Regions from separate parts of the Homo sapiens genome. Here regions 1, 2, 3 and 4 are each linked to region 5. The links are contacts of gene promoters, found by promoter capture Hi-C in blood cells and fetal thymus (Javierre and others, 2016). All regions are on one chromosome and are shown on one strand. The core of a region is centred on a gene start or on the middle of the fragment in contact, and the rest is flanking DNA. Distances in the headings are between cores, read along the strand shown.

Region 1 (2,700 bases), core at 151-2,650, 330 kb before region 5:
GCCTGTGATCTAAGTGTCTGAGTGTCTGTGCCTGTCTTTCTGCCTCACTCCCCAACCCCTAGCCTCTTTCTTCCTTAACTGGCCATGGTAGAACAAATTGCCTTTAAAACTTTTACATATTTTTGATGGAGTCTTATGTTTGCTGTTCTTAATTTTAAAGGTAGGGAACAGGAATATGTCATTTTTGCCTCATTTTATAAACTCTAGAGTTAGATTATTTATGTGGACTCCAGATTGCTTTTTTAGGTGGTCTGATACGAAGTGGAGAAAGCACTACAATCAGGTCCACCGACAGGAAAACCAGCTCAGCCACTCACTGCCAATCTAACTTCTAGCAAACTCAATGTTCTGAGCTCCATTTTCATAATATGGAAATAGGAATGACACTAGACCATACTAAGTAGAGTTCCACAAAGATTAGTGGTTATGACATTTCCAGGACCCCAAAGTAACCTTGGTGGCAGCAAAGGGGCTGGGGACAGGAATCACTCCATAGGGAGGTTTGTCTGCCTGGGCGGGCCTCCAAGGCAGACTACTCATTGGCAAACTGCTGGGCTCAGGTGAAAGCTTCTTTGCTAAGAATAAGCTTTATTGGAGAAAATTTTTAAGTAGTTTTTGCTCAACTACATACTGAATGGCAAAGGGATTTAGATGTTGGGTTTCATTACATTTCATTCGACTGACGAATTCATCACTTTGTCATTTATGCCAGTTTGCCATTAAACTGTTATTGGTATCCATCGACCACAGTGTTAGCTAAAACCCAGGGTAGAGTGGGCTGTGATGGAAGCCCGGGGCTCAGAATCTGACGCTGTCCAGGCTTAGAGAGTCTCTGGCTGAACAGGGTCCCCCAGGCCAGGGGTTAGTGTTGTGCCCCCGGGGTCCTGGTTTGCCCTGGGCTTTACGTCGCCTTCTTTCCGCAGCACGACTTCAGCCTGGAGAGGACGGCACTCTTCTGGGTGGAGGCCGCCGGCCAGGGACCCAGCCCGTACCAGTGCGGTGACCCGGGGACAGCGTCAGCCCCTCCAGCCTGGCTCTTGCTAGTCAGCCCCGAACATGGGCTGGCGCCTGCGCCCACCACAATCAGAGACCCGGAGGCCGGACACCAGGAGAGGCCGGAGGAGGAGGGTGAGGACGAGGCAGAAGCCTCCTCTGGCAGCGAGGAAGAGCCGGCCCCCAGCAGCCTCCAACCGGGCTCCCCGGCGAGCCCCGGCCCCGGCCGTCGCCTGTGCTCGCTGGACGTGCTACGCGGCGTGCGGTTGGAGCTGGCAGGGGCGCGGCGGCGGCTCTCCGAGGGGAAGCTGGTCTCCCGGCCCCGCGCCCTCCTGCATGGCCTCCGCGGCCACCGCGCGCTGAGCCTGTGCCCGAGCCCTGCGCAGTCCCCCAGGTCTGCATCACCCCCGGGGCCCGCGCCCCAGCACCCCGCCGCCCCCGCGTCGCCCCCGCGGCCCTCCACGGCAGGCGCCATCCCCCCGCTGCGGAGCCACAAGCCTACGGTCGCGGTAAGGATTCTGCCCGCCCCTCCAAGGCCGCCAATCAGCAGCCCAGGCCCCATAATCTGGGTGTCCAGCCCAGCCCGCAGCCTCGGTCCCCTACTCCACGCGCTCCTGCATCCTCCCTTGACCTGCTCCCACCTGGGCCTGTACCGTGTTGTCCTCCTGCGGCCCTTTGACTAGAGTAGAGTAGTCCCTGCTCAGAAGCCCCCATTCCCCGCGTTTCCCACTGTGCCTGCCTTGCTTTTTTTTAGGGAGCAGGTCACAGTGGTTTTAATTATCCAGGACCTGTCTCTTCTAAACGAGGTTGAGCTCTTTTAGGGCAGGGACTGGATCGCACTGATTTTTGTTTCCAGAGCACCCAGCTGCCGACTTGACCCATAGGGGGCGCTCAGTGGATGTCTGTTGAATTGATGAACGCAACGCAAATCTAGGGCTTCCCACTGGCTGAGGTTTGCTATAAGCTAGGGGAGCTGGAGGCTCAATCAAGGAATATTCAATGCACAGTTACTTCCTGCCAGACACTGGGTTTGGGAGTGTCAAAACCACAGGACATGAAGAGTTGGCCAAGAGGGTTGTGGGACCAGGCCCTGAACTGTACAGCGGGATCAGGTGTTGAGGGAGCGTCAGGGCTGCAATAGGCTGAGAAGGCTTCAGGACGGAGGAAGTGAACCCTGAAGAGCAGGGAGAAGTGACCCTACAGTGAAACCACAGAAGCTTAAGCCTCAGGCTCCTCCCTTTGTCTCTTCCAAGGCCTTGTGCCCAATTTTGTATTCATAATTGTGTGTTCTTTTTCTGTGAGGTGCCTTCCAAATTATGTAAGTATCAGACTCCACAAAACATGGGGTGGGTCAGGATTGGCAGCAGAAGGTGGCAGCGGGGCACAGCTTTCTGCCCCCCAGCAGCCCCACAGTCAGGCCAGGAGATGCTGCAGAATAAGGCCAAGGTAGAATTCAATCTGCAAGACAGAGACCTGAGGTCTGGTTTCTTACATGCACCGGCTTGTGACCTTAGGCAAGTCACTGAACCACCCCTTCTCTACCTGCACTGTGAGCCAACAACCCTTCACACGGTTGTTTAGAGCATACATAGTAGAGAAGAGGCTCTGTAAGCGTGATGTGCCATGCCCACATCCAAGACCAGATGTTGATGCCAGGATGGCTCTTCCCTGGCCAAGATGAATTTAACTCTCATAACAACCCTGTGG
Region 2 (3,029 bases), core at 340-2,839, 360 kb before region 5:
CAAGGCAGGCGGATCATGAGGTCAGGAGATCGAGACCATCCTGGCTAACATGGTGAAACCCCATCTCCACTAAAAATACAAAAAAATTAGCCAGGCATGGTGGTGGGCACCTGTAATCCCAGCTACTCGGGAGGCTGAGGCAGAAGAATGGCATGAACCCAGGAGGCAGAGCTTACAATGAGCCAAGATCACGCCACTGCACTCCAGCCTGGGCGACACAGGGAGACTCTGTCTCATAAAAAAAAAAAAAGAAAGAAAGTGGCCAGGTGTGGTGGCTCACACCTGTAACCCCAGCACTTTGGGAGGCCAAGGTGGACGGATCACCTGATGTAAGGAGTTTACGACCAGCCTAGCCAGCATTGTGAAACCCCCTCTCTACTAAAAACACAAAAATTAGCCAGGCGTGGCAGCAGGGGTCTATAATCCCAGCAACTGACTAGGGAGGCTGAGGCACCAAGAATAACTGGAACCTGGGATGCAGTGGTTGCAGTGAGTGGAGAGTGCGTCATTGCACTCCAGCCTGGGTGACAGAGGGACTCTGTCTCAAAAAAAGTGGGGGGTGCACGGGACTTGGTTGACCTGGATGGCATGCAAGGGGTGGGGAGGGACCAAGGAGGTGCTGGGTCTATGGGACTTGCTCCTATGTATCCATCAGTGATCTGGTTGGCGCCATGGAGGCTGGGGCGAAGGCGGAGGGGGGGTGGGGGGTAGCGGGGAGCTAGGTTGTAAATTGACAGTTGTCCCCAGGCAATCCCCTGGTATGGGAAAGTTCCAGAGGTCCCTGGTTTAAGCTTCGGTCCTTGGAACTAATAAGCGAACACATAATTAGATAAGCTTACAGTGTAGAGAGTGTCTGGTGGAGAGAAGGTAAAGGTTAATTGGATTTTTTTTTTTGACAGGTGTCATTCTGTCGCCCAGGGTGGAGTGCAGTGGCGTTATCGTGGCTCATTGCAGTCTTTACCTCCCAGGGCTCAGGTGATCCTCCCACCTCAGCCTCCCCAATGGCTGGGACTACAGGCCGATCTCGCCTGCCTCGGCCTCCCAAAGTGCTGGGATTACAGACGTGAGCCACAGCACCCACCCTATAATTGCATTCCTAAAGAGCTAAATAGGAGGTGGGGTGAAAGGAGAAAAGTAAAAATAATTCATTTTTCTAAGAAAATGGGTAGTTGGTCACACTCCTATTTACTAGGGCCTTTGCACATGTTCTCATCTGCACTGTGCTTCCCTCTCTTTTTCTATTTAACTATTTATCTTCCAGATCTCAGCTGCAGCCGCAGTTTCTTAGGATAACCTTCTCCAACTTCTCGAAGATACTCACCATGATTAATTGATTAGTGTGTTATACTAGGCAGATAGTTCCACGAAGAGAAGCTCTGTATCTCTCAGTCTCACTGTATGCGGAGTGGGTAGCTCTGCACCTAGGATGCTCAATAAGAACGGTATTTATGAACTGAACGACAGAAGGTTGAACGACTGCCCACTTATGCACTGAGCCTTCCGGAGGGACGAGTCTACAGGGGTCGCGCGTCGTAACGACGTCACTTCCGTCGGAAGGTTCTCATGAGGAGCCACTCAGATTCCTGTCACTTCTCAAAGCATCTCCGTCGTGAACATGGCCCTGCCACCATTCTTCGGCCAGGGTCGCCCAGGCCCACCGCCCCCGCAGCCGCCGCCTCCTGCTCCTTTCGGCTGTCCGCCACCGCCGCTGCCCTCCCCGGCTTTCCCGCCGCCTCTCCCCCAGCGGCCCGGCCCTTTTCCGGGGGCCTCCGCCCCCTTCCTTCAGCCTCCGCTGGCTCTGCAGCCCCGAGCCTCCGCGGAGGCCTCCCGCGGCGGAGGCGGCGCTGGCGCCTTCTACCCGGTGCCACCACCGCCGCTGCCTCCTCCGCCGCCCCAGTGTCGGCCCTTCCCGGGGACCGACGCCGGCGAGCGGCCGCGGCCACCGCCTCCCGGCCCGGGGCCGCCCTGGAGCCCGCGGTGGCCTGAGGCGCCGCCGCCGCCGGCCGACGTGCTCGGGGATGCGGCCCTCCAACGCCTGCGCGACCGGCAGTGGCTGGAGGCGGTGTTCGGGACCCCGCGGCGGGCAGGCTGTCCGGTGCCCCAGCGCACGCATGCCGGGCCCAGCCTTGGCGAAGTGCGCGCGCGATTGCTCCGGGCTCTGCGCCTGGTGCGGCGGCTGCGCGGCCTGAGCCAGGCCCTGCGCGAGGCCGAAGCCGACGGCGCGGCCTGGGTCCTGCTGTACTCCCAGACCGCGCCGCTGCGCGCGGAACTGGCCGAGCGGCTACAGCCGTTGACCCAGGCTGCCTATGTGGGCGAGGCGCGGAGGAGGCTGGAGAGGGTCCGGCGCCGCCGGCTGCGGCTTCGCGAGAGGGCCCGGGAACGCGAGGCCGAGCGGGAGGCAGAGGCCGCGCGGGCAGTGGAACGCGAGCAGGAGATTGACCGCTGGAGGGTGAAGTGTGTGCAGGAGGTGGAGGAGAAGAAGCGGGTGAGAGCAGCGGCCGCTCATGGGGGTAGGAGTGGTGGTGGTTGGAACCTGGAGCAGCAGGAGGCTTTAAACTTCCATTTCCCAGGGCTAAGCCTCTGTTTTACGCGCAAAATGAAGCGATAGCTAACCTTCCCAGCTCATACCACCATGTTAATTTTGTGTTAATGATGTGTGGTACACAAAAGTTCCAGGTGCACTGTAAAATCCTGTAAACACAAAGTATAGGATTACACGGTGGCACTGCACGAATGACAGGTCTCCCCTATCCTGCTCCAACATTGTCCACTTACTCTCAAAACCAGTAAGTGTCTAGTTCCTTGTGTCTTGTACTGCCCTAGGTGGTTTTAAGAATACAAAATACAGGCCGGGCGCGGTGGCCCACGCCTGTAATCCCAGCACTTTGGGAGGCGGAGGCGGGTGGATCACGAGGTCAGGAGTTCAAGACCAGCCTGGCCAAGATGGTGAAACCCCGTCTCTACTAAAAATACAAAAATTAGCCATGCGTGGTGGCGGGCGCCTGTAATCCCAGCTACTCTGGAGGCGG
Region 3 (2,700 bases), core at 13-2,512, 270 kb before region 5:
GAGCCACCGCGCCTGGCCAAAATATGTTTAAAATATGTTTAATATTGTTACAGTAAACACATACCAACCAACAAAAAACCAAAATGACAAATTGGATACAAATCCAGAACCGAGAGTCAGCCCTCCTCAGCTATGTTAGATGCCACAGAAACAAGCGACATATTTCTTTCTTTTTTTTGAGACAGAGTTTCACTCTTTTTGCCCAGGCTGGAGTGCAATGGCATGATCTCAGCTCACTGCAACCTCCACCTCCCAGGTTCAAGTGATTCTCCTGCCTCAGCCTCCCAAGTAGCTGTGATTATAGGCATCCACCACCATGCCCAGCTAATTTTGTATTTATTTATTTAGAGACAGAGTTTCACTCTTGTTGCCCAGGCTGGAGTGTAGTGGCACCATCTCAGCTCACTGCAACCTCCGCCTCCCGAGTTCAAGTGATCCTCCTGCCTCAGCTTCCTGAGTAGCTGGGATTATAGGTGCCCGCCACCACATCCAGCTAATTTTTGTATTATTAGTAGAGACAGCATTTCACCACATTGGCCAGGCTGGTCTCGGAACTCCTGACCTGAGGTGATCCATCTGCCTCGGCCTCCCAAAGTGCTGGGATTACAGGCATGAGCCACCGCACCCGGCCAATTTTGTATTTTTAGTAGAGATGGGGTTTCACCACGTTAGCCGGGGTGGTCTCGAACTCCTGACCTCAGGTGATCGGCCTGCCTCGGCCTCCAAAAGTGCTGGAATTACAGGCGTGAGCCACTGCGCCCGGCCAAAGACATATTTCTATCAAAGCACGTATCCAGTTTGCTTCTAAAGTGAGCATCATATTGTCATTTGCATGATTAAATTAAACTTTATGCCTTATTTGCATTTTGTTAGTTTTGCCTTTAATGTTCTTTTCTTGTTCCAGGATCCCATTTAGGATGTCATACTGCATTTAGTTGTCTTGTCTCCTTAAGCCCCTCTGGGAGATCTCTGCATTTTAAACAGGGCTTAACCATCGTGCCATTGGACTGTGACTTCTGCCAAAGACCTGGGCCACCCATCCCCAAGGCAAGATGAGGACACTCACCCCGGATCCTGAGTTCCTGACGACTGCCTTGATCTGCTGTTGGGAGCAGCACCGATTTCTGTATCTTCCTTTTCCTCCTCTTTATGGGAGAACAGGATAGTCTTTGCACTTGAGCTCTCCCAGGCAGTAACAGCTGTCACTTAGGGGACAGTGCCTGGAGAGCCTGCGGCAGCTGGACCCATCTGGTAGCTCTGGCCTTAGCACACGCCCAGGCCTGGAGCCTTCTGTATCACTCCAGGGTGACTGACCTCTTGAATGAGTGCACTCAGAGTGCAAACAGGCTCCACCTGACTTTCACAATCCGAAAGCACCAGTAGCCCAGTGCTTTCATTGTTATGTGTTGGCCTCAAGTAAAGAGAAAACATCCGGATCCTCTGGACAGGCAGGAGAATGGACTGCAGAGGACCTGCGGTCTGTGGGTTCCATCACTGCAGGGGGATATGTAGTGTGCCCACTCCAGGTCTCTATTGCCCAATATCATCAATATTTAACCACGGAGCAGGGAGCCAGGCTGGCCTTTTACAGCCTGTGCTTTCTCATAGTGAAGGTCATGGCATGATGTGAATTCCTCACAAGGAGCTGTAAAATATGACCTTTGGAGGTGGGGGTTGGGAAAGGCTGTGTGAGCACCAGTGACCCAGAGAGTAGGAAGCAGGCCAAGGCAAGTAACTTGATGGGGAAGCAGGAATGAGGTGCTCCTCCCACCTGACCAGCACCATTCAACTCTGATAGTCTATGGACTTTTCCACCAACTGGCTCCGTGCATCTTAGGCAATCATTGTTGGTTTAGCAAGGAGTGGGCTTATGTGAAATAAGCCCACTCCTTTTTTTTTTTTTTTTTTTTTTTTGAGATGGAGTCTCGCTGTGTCACCCAGGCTGGAGAGCAGTGGCACAATCTTGGCTCACTGCAACCTCCACCTCCCCGGTTCAAGCAATTCTCCTGCCTCAGCCTCCTGAGTAGCTGGGACTACAAGTATGTGCCATCATGCCCGGCTAATTTTTTCTATTTTTAGTAGAGATGGTGTTTCACCGTGTTAGCCAGGATAGTCTTGATCTCCTGACCTCGTGATCTGCCCACCTCAGACTCCCAAAGTGCTGGGATTACAGGCATGAGCCACCACGCCCAGCCGCCCACTCTTATTTCTTACTTCACAAATGAAACAGAGGCTGAGTGAGGTCACATGTCAAGCCCAAACTCCTCTATGAGTTAAACATTAGTCAACAGTGTGTACTGTGTGTGCATGGGGCAGAGGAAAGAAGACCCAACAGGGAATCTAGGGGCTGCCTGGAACTCCAGCTCCTCCTCATTTTGTAATGCATTCATTTATTCATTGAATAAATGTTACTTGAGCATCTACTGTGTAGATACATGGTAAATAAGACAGGTGAGGGCCCTGCTCCATTGGAGCTCAAACTCCAGGGGAGATAGCCAACAAAAAAGTAAGCAAAAGCATAATTAAAAGATAATTATAGCAGTGATCATTTCTGTGAATATCTTAAACAACATAATAAGATAGAAAGGGATGAGGTGGGGGAGACATGATTACTATATTACTACACTAAAAACTGAATGATGAGGGGTTAACCATGCAAAGACCTGAAAAAGCAGGTACAAAGGCCAGGCGTGGTGGCTC
Region 4 (2,938 bases), core at 183-2,682, 290 kb before region 5:
AGAGCACTGGACTGGGAGTCAGGACTCCTGCCTGGGCTCTGATGCTGGTGCCACCACTGACTTACAAAAGCTACCCAAACTCTTCAGGCTACAGTGCTTCATCTGTAAAGTGGAATTTGAATCTGCCTTCTAAGGTTCTGTTCCCCTTTGACATGTGAATTTATCATTCGACAACCACAGAAGTGGTTGTCATGTTGTGCCTCCAGAAGAGGCAACCACATCGCGAAAGGGTACCAAAAGCTTAGCTTTATATGAAAGGGCTCCTGGGGGTTGGGTGGCAAGGGTAGGTCCTGCCGTCAGGAAAACCTCACAGGCCCTACGTGTCTAGACCTATATTTGCTCCAGTCGTTCACTCCAGAGGTATCTATTGAGCACCTGCTGCATGCCCACTGCTGGGCCTGGTGCCACATCCTCTAGATTTTGAGTGCCTGGGGGCCTCCTATGAGACCCTTGATGAGGGTTGGGGGTAGAGGGTAAGGAGAGTTGGGTTACCTGCCCTAGCAGAATAACCTCTCTCTTGATCTGAAGTGTACAAACTTCTGGTCACTAAACGGTTATGACTTCTTTGTAGGTGGATGAGAAATGTGTGCTATTTATATCCAGAGGAGTAGACAGAACTAACCTCCACTTCCTTGGGCCATGGGCCAAGCTCTGGATAGGACACATGTTATCTAATATACTTATTGATATTGTCCCTGTTTTATTTTATTTTGAGACAAGGTCTCACTCTGTCACCCAGGCAGGAGTGCAGTGGCACAAATACAGCTTATTGCAGCCTCCATCTCCTGGGCTGAAGCTATCTTCCCACCTTGGCCTCCCATGTAGCTGGGACTATAGTTGCATGCCAACATACCCAGCTAATTTTTTTATATGCGTCTGTAGAGACAGGGTTTCACCATGTTGCCCAGGTTTGTCCCTATTTTGAAGATGAGGAACAGAGACCCAGAAGGGCAAAGTAGTTTATTCCAGGGTCTGACAGTAGCAGCCCCTGGGTGAGGAAACTGGGGATGGAGAAAAGGATAGGTCGCAGCCATGAGGTGGGCACTGTTTTCCTCCCAAGCCTCAGAGAAGGGGCAGACTTTGAGCAATGAGCTGTCACAGTTGAGGGCCCCAGTAACCAGGTGGCCACCAGCTCAAATAATCTCTGAACTGGAAGAGAATTAAGGGTCATCTTACTGCAACATTCGAGTCATGAAGGCGTCTCTTCTCTAACACTTCCTTGACGTGGTCACTCCCTTGGTTGCTGCCAGTGTCAGGGGAGAGGGGTTGAGTTCCACCAAAGACAGTCCCTTCTAACTATGGACAGTCAGATGGTTACAGAGTTCACCCTCAGACTGAGCTAGAATCTTGCAGCTCCCATCTCCTGGTTGGTCAAGTTTTAAAGATGAGGAAACAGACCACATAGAGGTCAAGTAACATCCCAGCATCACACAAGCTGAGAAGTAGCAGAGCTTAAGTTTACATGCAGTTGGGCCCGTGCAGGCCCACAGTTAGCCCTGCCTCCAGCAGTTGTCCATTGAGATTGGTTCTATCCCCAAAGGCCCCATCTGGAACCAGTCTGTCTTCACAGAATGGGGCCAGCCCAGGGATGTGACTGGAACTTGGCTCCCACTTTCTCAACTCCTACAACTCAAAGGAAAACCCTTGGCCATTAGCTGTGTGACTAATTCTGGCCTGAGAGTGTAATCTAAACAAATTCCACCCACTACCTTAATAACACAGCTGGTTTACCATGATTTCCCCAAAACACAACTAGGCTGAGTCAATATTCATGTCCTGGCCAGGAAAATAATTGTTCTTCTTTGAAGAGTCGTTATTACCATCCAGCTCTGACCCTGGGCCCTGCCTGCACACCTGGTTTTCCATGGTTCCTCTGTGGGTGGGTGGGTAGATGAGTTAACCATCTGCGGGAAGGGGAAGGAGAAGGGCTGCCGTGAGAGGTCTCTGAGGCTCCCATGCCTTTCCCTGCTCTAACCTGGAGCGTACTCCAGAAGAGATGCCTCACAGGGTTCTAGAATGTACGCAGGCCTGGAGCCCAGGGCTGATTCTGTCACTCTCTATTTTGCTTCATTTTCCCCTTCCTTCAGTATTTATATATGGGGACACCGAAGCCCAAAGAAGCAAGGTGACTTGCCCAAGATTACTCTAGGGCAGGAGCTAGCACTAGATCCTAAGTGTCCAGGTTCGTGGTGTGGGCCCTTTGCCCTGTCTTTGGTATGACCAGATTTACCCTGAGTCCCAAGGGGAATGACCAGGGGACCCCTGCCAGGCTCACCACCAATCCCAGAATTGCTGTAGGCAAGAGGCAGTGCCAGGTTTTAGAACAAACACCCCATTTACACAACAGGCCACAAACACATGCAACTCATTAGCTCCCATTAGGGAGAGACAGTAATTCAGAATGGATTAGGTTTCTTGAAGCTGAACCCATATTGGCCCTGAAATCTTAGTGAGGGGTTCTCTCCGCCCCGCCCCCTCTCCCAGAAGCCTGGGTTCCGAATGGGTTCTGCAGTGAGGCCTCTAGAGTCTCCACAGCAAAGGGCAGAATAATGTGATTGGGGATATAGAGTGCCAAGGCTGAGCTAAAGAAAGGGCAAGGCTTGGAATTGAACCCAGGAAGCTTCCTGGAGGAGGAGGCGGGGCTGGCTTGGTAGAACAAAGGGAGGGGTGGATTTTCTTGCTGGTGAAAAGAGATTGAGTGGGAGGTTCAGGGAAGAGTGCAAACATCCTTCCCCTCTCTCCCCCTAGCCCTGGGGCTCCTTCTCTGCTCCTTCCCGGCCGGGTTTGGGGGCGCTCGGGAGGGTGACGGCAGGGTCCTCGAGGCCCAGCCCGGCGGTGGGGGCGCGGCCGGCAGGAGCTCCCTCCCTGCTCCAGGAGCCGGCTGAGCGCGCCCCGCGGGGGGCTCCGCAGCCCTTACAAGGAATTTGGTGGCGCTTGG
Region 5 (2,936 bases), core at 5-2,504:
CGCTCTTGTTGCCCTGGCTGGAGTGCAATGGCAAGATCTCGGGTCACCGCAACCTCCGCCCCGTCCAGGAGAAGGGGCACTGAGGAGGGACCCAGTTCTCCCGCGGCTCTGCCGGATTCAGGCTGCAGCGCTTCCAGCGCTCCCCGAGGTGGGTGCGGGTTTCTACTGTGGCAGCAGGGCGGGCCCCCATCGGCTGGGTTTTCAAATAGAAGAGAAAACCGACCCAGAGGCCGCGCCCTACTGACCTGCGCGGGGGTGCGGGGGGAGTCACGACGACCTCCCCCACCTCCCCCAGCCTCTAGGCTATTACATCCGTCCCCAGCCTTCGGGCTCAGAATAGGAGGCAGGGAAAGGTGTGAGGGGCACTGAGGTCGGGGGAGGAGCGAGAAGACCCGAAAGCCAGGCGTGTTGAGGGCAAGGTGGGCAACAGAACCTTCTTGGTCATTCGAGGCAGCCCTCGCTAATGACCATTGGGGTCCCAACACTCGAATCCCCACCTAAGTCCTATTCAGATAGTGACTGGGAGTGGGAAGGGAGTTTGAGATCCTAAGTCCCACCCTCTGGGCTGGGAGCCTGAGGCCAGAGAGGGGAAGTGATTTCCTCAAGGTCACTCAGCAAAACAGCGCCCAGCCCGGGCCAAAGCTCAGGTGTCTCCCAACCCCCTCCCCCCGGCCATCACCCCCAGAACTCGGTCCCCCGGAGCTGAGGTCTGCGCGACTGGATTTAGGGGCAGAATGAGTGCGTCGGGAACCCCAAAACCCTAGATCAAGATACAAGGGGAGTCGACGGCCCGGAAACCTCGCTGCGGGTGCCCTAAGCGCGAGGCCGCCCGGGCAGGGCCGCCCAGGGACCGGGGCGCTGGGTGCGGGGCACGGGGCTCCACCTCCCGCGGGCTGGGGCGCGCAGCGCGCGGCCCCTTTAAGAAAGTTCGCCGGGCGAGTTCATCAAAGTTTAAAAACTCGCCGTGGAGAAGGGCGCGGGGGAAGAGGAGAGAGGGAGAGCGCTGACCCAGGCGAGAGAGAGGGGAAAGGCCCGGCCGGAGGCCGGCGCCCCGCGGCCGGGGCCGGGGCGAGCCCACGGTGGGCGGTGGGGATTGGCTGCGCGTTCCCCCGGAGACCGCGCGGCGGGCGGGGGAGGGGGCTGGCCGGGCCCCAGCTGAGGCCGGTTCCGGCCCCGCCCCCCGCCGCCGGCGCCCGCCCCCTCCCCCGGCGCCCGCCCCCCGCCGCCGCTGCCGCCGCCGCCGCCGCCGCGGCGCACTCGCCGGTCGCAGTGAAAAGGCGGAGGCGGCGGCCCCTCCGGCTCCCACTGCCTCCCCCGCCGCACCCCCTCCCCACCTTCCGCACCCGCCAAACTTGATGTGACCCTGGCCCGACGCGGAGGCTGCCCCTCTCACTGCCCCGTGGGTCCCCCGCCACCCGCTCCGCACCCGCGAGCGCACCGCTCCCCGCGCCCCTTCCCACTTCCCGCGGGGCCGGCGCCGCGCTCGCCCTCGCGTTCCTTCCCGCCGCCCCCTCCCCCGCACCATGAGCAACCTGAAGCCGGACGGCGAGCACGGCGGCAGCACCGGCACCGGCTCCGGCGCGGGCTCCGGCGGCGCCCTGGAGGAGGAGGTGGGTCTGTGGCCCCGGGACTTGCCGGGTGAAGCGCACGCCAGGCGGGCGCGGGAGAGGGCGAGCGGGGCCTGCCGCGCCTCGCGGGGCCGGGGTGGCCATCGCTCCCGGCGCCTTCCCGCCGCTGCCCTCTCGCCCGGGTAGGAGCGGCCCGTGTCCGCGGGCGGGAGCGTGCGGCCTGGACTGCCCCGCCGGACAGGCATTGTCTCCCCGCCCTCTCGGGCTCGAGGCGGGCCGCGCGCGCCGGCCGCCGTCCGGGCGTCCCGCGGTGGGCGAGATGCGCCGCGTCCGTTCCATGCCTGCCGCCCGCGCGCCCCTTGCTCCCCACCCCGTAGCCGCTCGCCGCCCTCCTCCGAGGCGCACCTCCTGCGTGGCCAGGACCCCGCCTCGGCGGCACGGAGCGGAGCGGGATTAGCACGGCCCGAGGGCGGCACCCTCACTCCACTGCCTTTTCCGCCCTGACCCCCTCCCCGTGACCTTGGAGGCCTGGGCCGGCCGGCTCCTCGGTTCCTGCGAGCTGTTGTCATGGGGGTGGGCGGGCTTTCTTCACAGCCCCAGAACCTGGGCTTTGGCAGAGGTGAGCCCACAATTTAATTAGTTTGGAAGATGACTAAAGACACTCAGTTCGTCCTTCTCCTCTCTCTGGGTTTGTCCTGGCAACCAAGCCAGGACCCCAAAGCTGGCCTGGGTGGGATCCTGCCAGGAGGGGCGAAATCATCTCGTCCACCGGCCATGTGCGAAAGGGAGGGAGTGTAAGGCGGCTCCGTGGAACCACCAGCAGCTGGGTGGTTAATGGATGGTAGGGAGGATGTGTGTGCGGGGTGGGGTGCTGGATAAAAGCCTCAAAGATATCAGTGAATAGGGACGAGGAGCTAGGCTGGCGGAGACAAGAACTGGAGTAGAAGGGGACAGGCTTCGCAGGGCCTCTGGCCTCTGCTGCGTCATTCTAGGGGTGAGAGAGCCTTCCTGCCCCTGCCCTGGCATGTTCTCGCCCAGGAAACCAAGGGCTGGTTATCCACCTTGGGCGCCCTTCCCCTTGGCCTGGGGGAGAAACCGCAGAGCCCCTGGTGTGGACTGGTGTTGCCTCCTCCCCTTGTGCTGGGGGTTGGTGCAGAATGGCGCCGGTGGCCCTCGGCTGGGCTGGGCTCAGCGCCGCCAGCTCCCACTCGGCTATTCAGAGACCTTCAGCCAGCCCCAGTCGATGACAATCTAGGTTTGGATCTCCACTTTTTGGCGGAAGGGGAAGGGAAGAATATACAACTGTGACATCTGTCCACTAATGACTTAAGTGTGGTGGATTTGTTTGGGCTCCAGAGGCCTTGCCCT

What was found. The method cuts DNA at HindIII sites, captures the fragments that hold promoters and counts their contacts. A CHiCAGO score of 5 or more calls a contact.
Region 1: a fragment that was not itself captured here is called in contact with the fragment with the promoter of RBPMS2 in region 5 in 1 of 17 cell types (M2 macrophages); the score reaches 5.2 in M2 macrophages.
Region 2: a contact is called between the fragment with the promoter of PDCD7 here and the fragment with the promoter of RBPMS2 in region 5, in 13 of 17 cell types (neutrophils, activated CD4 T cells, fetal thymus and 10 more). The highest score is 14.4, in neutrophils.
Region 3: the fragment with the promoter of SLC51B here is called in contact with the fragment with the promoter of RBPMS2 in region 5 in 8 of 17 cell types (neutrophils, erythroblasts, M0 macrophages and 5 more); the score reaches 8.4 in neutrophils.
Region 4: a fragment that was not itself captured here is called in contact with the fragment with the promoter of RBPMS2 in region 5 in 1 of 17 cell types (endothelial precursors); the score reaches 6.4 in endothelial precursors.

The regions. Positions count from the first base shown.
Region 1 is chr15:65,100,908-65,103,607 of GRCh38, reverse strand. It overlaps UBAP1L (ubiquitin associated protein 1 like), which reads left to right. Exons shown (of 6, transcript NM_001163692.2): 3 at 924-1,502. Among named protein-coding and RNA genes, the nearest start is that of UBAP1L, 13 kb to the left of the region's middle. The HindIII fragment of the contact is 1,624 bases long and covers 589-2,212 here.
Region 2 is chr15:65,132,368-65,135,396 of GRCh38, reverse strand. It overlaps PDCD7 (programmed cell death 7), which reads left to right and starts at 1,589. Exons shown (of 5, transcript NM_005707.2): 1 at 1,589-2,485. The coding sequence starts at 1,616. RefSeq lists an enhancer at 1,304-1,403 and silencers at 1,694-1,903, 1,964-2,363. The HindIII fragment of the contact is 3,462 bases long and covers 837-3,029 here.
Region 3 is chr15:65,043,949-65,046,648 of GRCh38, reverse strand. It overlaps SLC51B (SLC51 subunit beta), which reads right to left and starts at 1,262. Exons shown (of 4, transcript NM_178859.4): 1 at 1,067-1,262. It also overlaps a transcript of RASL12 not described here. The HindIII fragment of the contact is 5,268 bases long and covers 1-2,700 here.
Region 4 is chr15:65,068,042-65,070,979 of GRCh38, reverse strand. It overlaps a transcript of RASL12 not described here. Among named protein-coding and RNA genes, the nearest start is that of RASL12, 1.5 kb to the right of the region's middle. The HindIII fragment of the contact is 2,380 bases long and covers 243-2,622 here.
Region 5 is chr15:64,773,907-64,776,842 of GRCh38, reverse strand. RBPMS2 (RNA binding protein, mRNA processing factor 2) reads left to right here and starts at 1,254. Exons shown (of 8, transcript NM_194272.3): 1 at 1,254-1,610. The coding sequence starts at 1,524. RefSeq lists enhancers at 1-546, 547-1,393 and a silencer at 829-1,078. The HindIII fragment of the contact is 6,915 bases long and covers 1-2,936 here.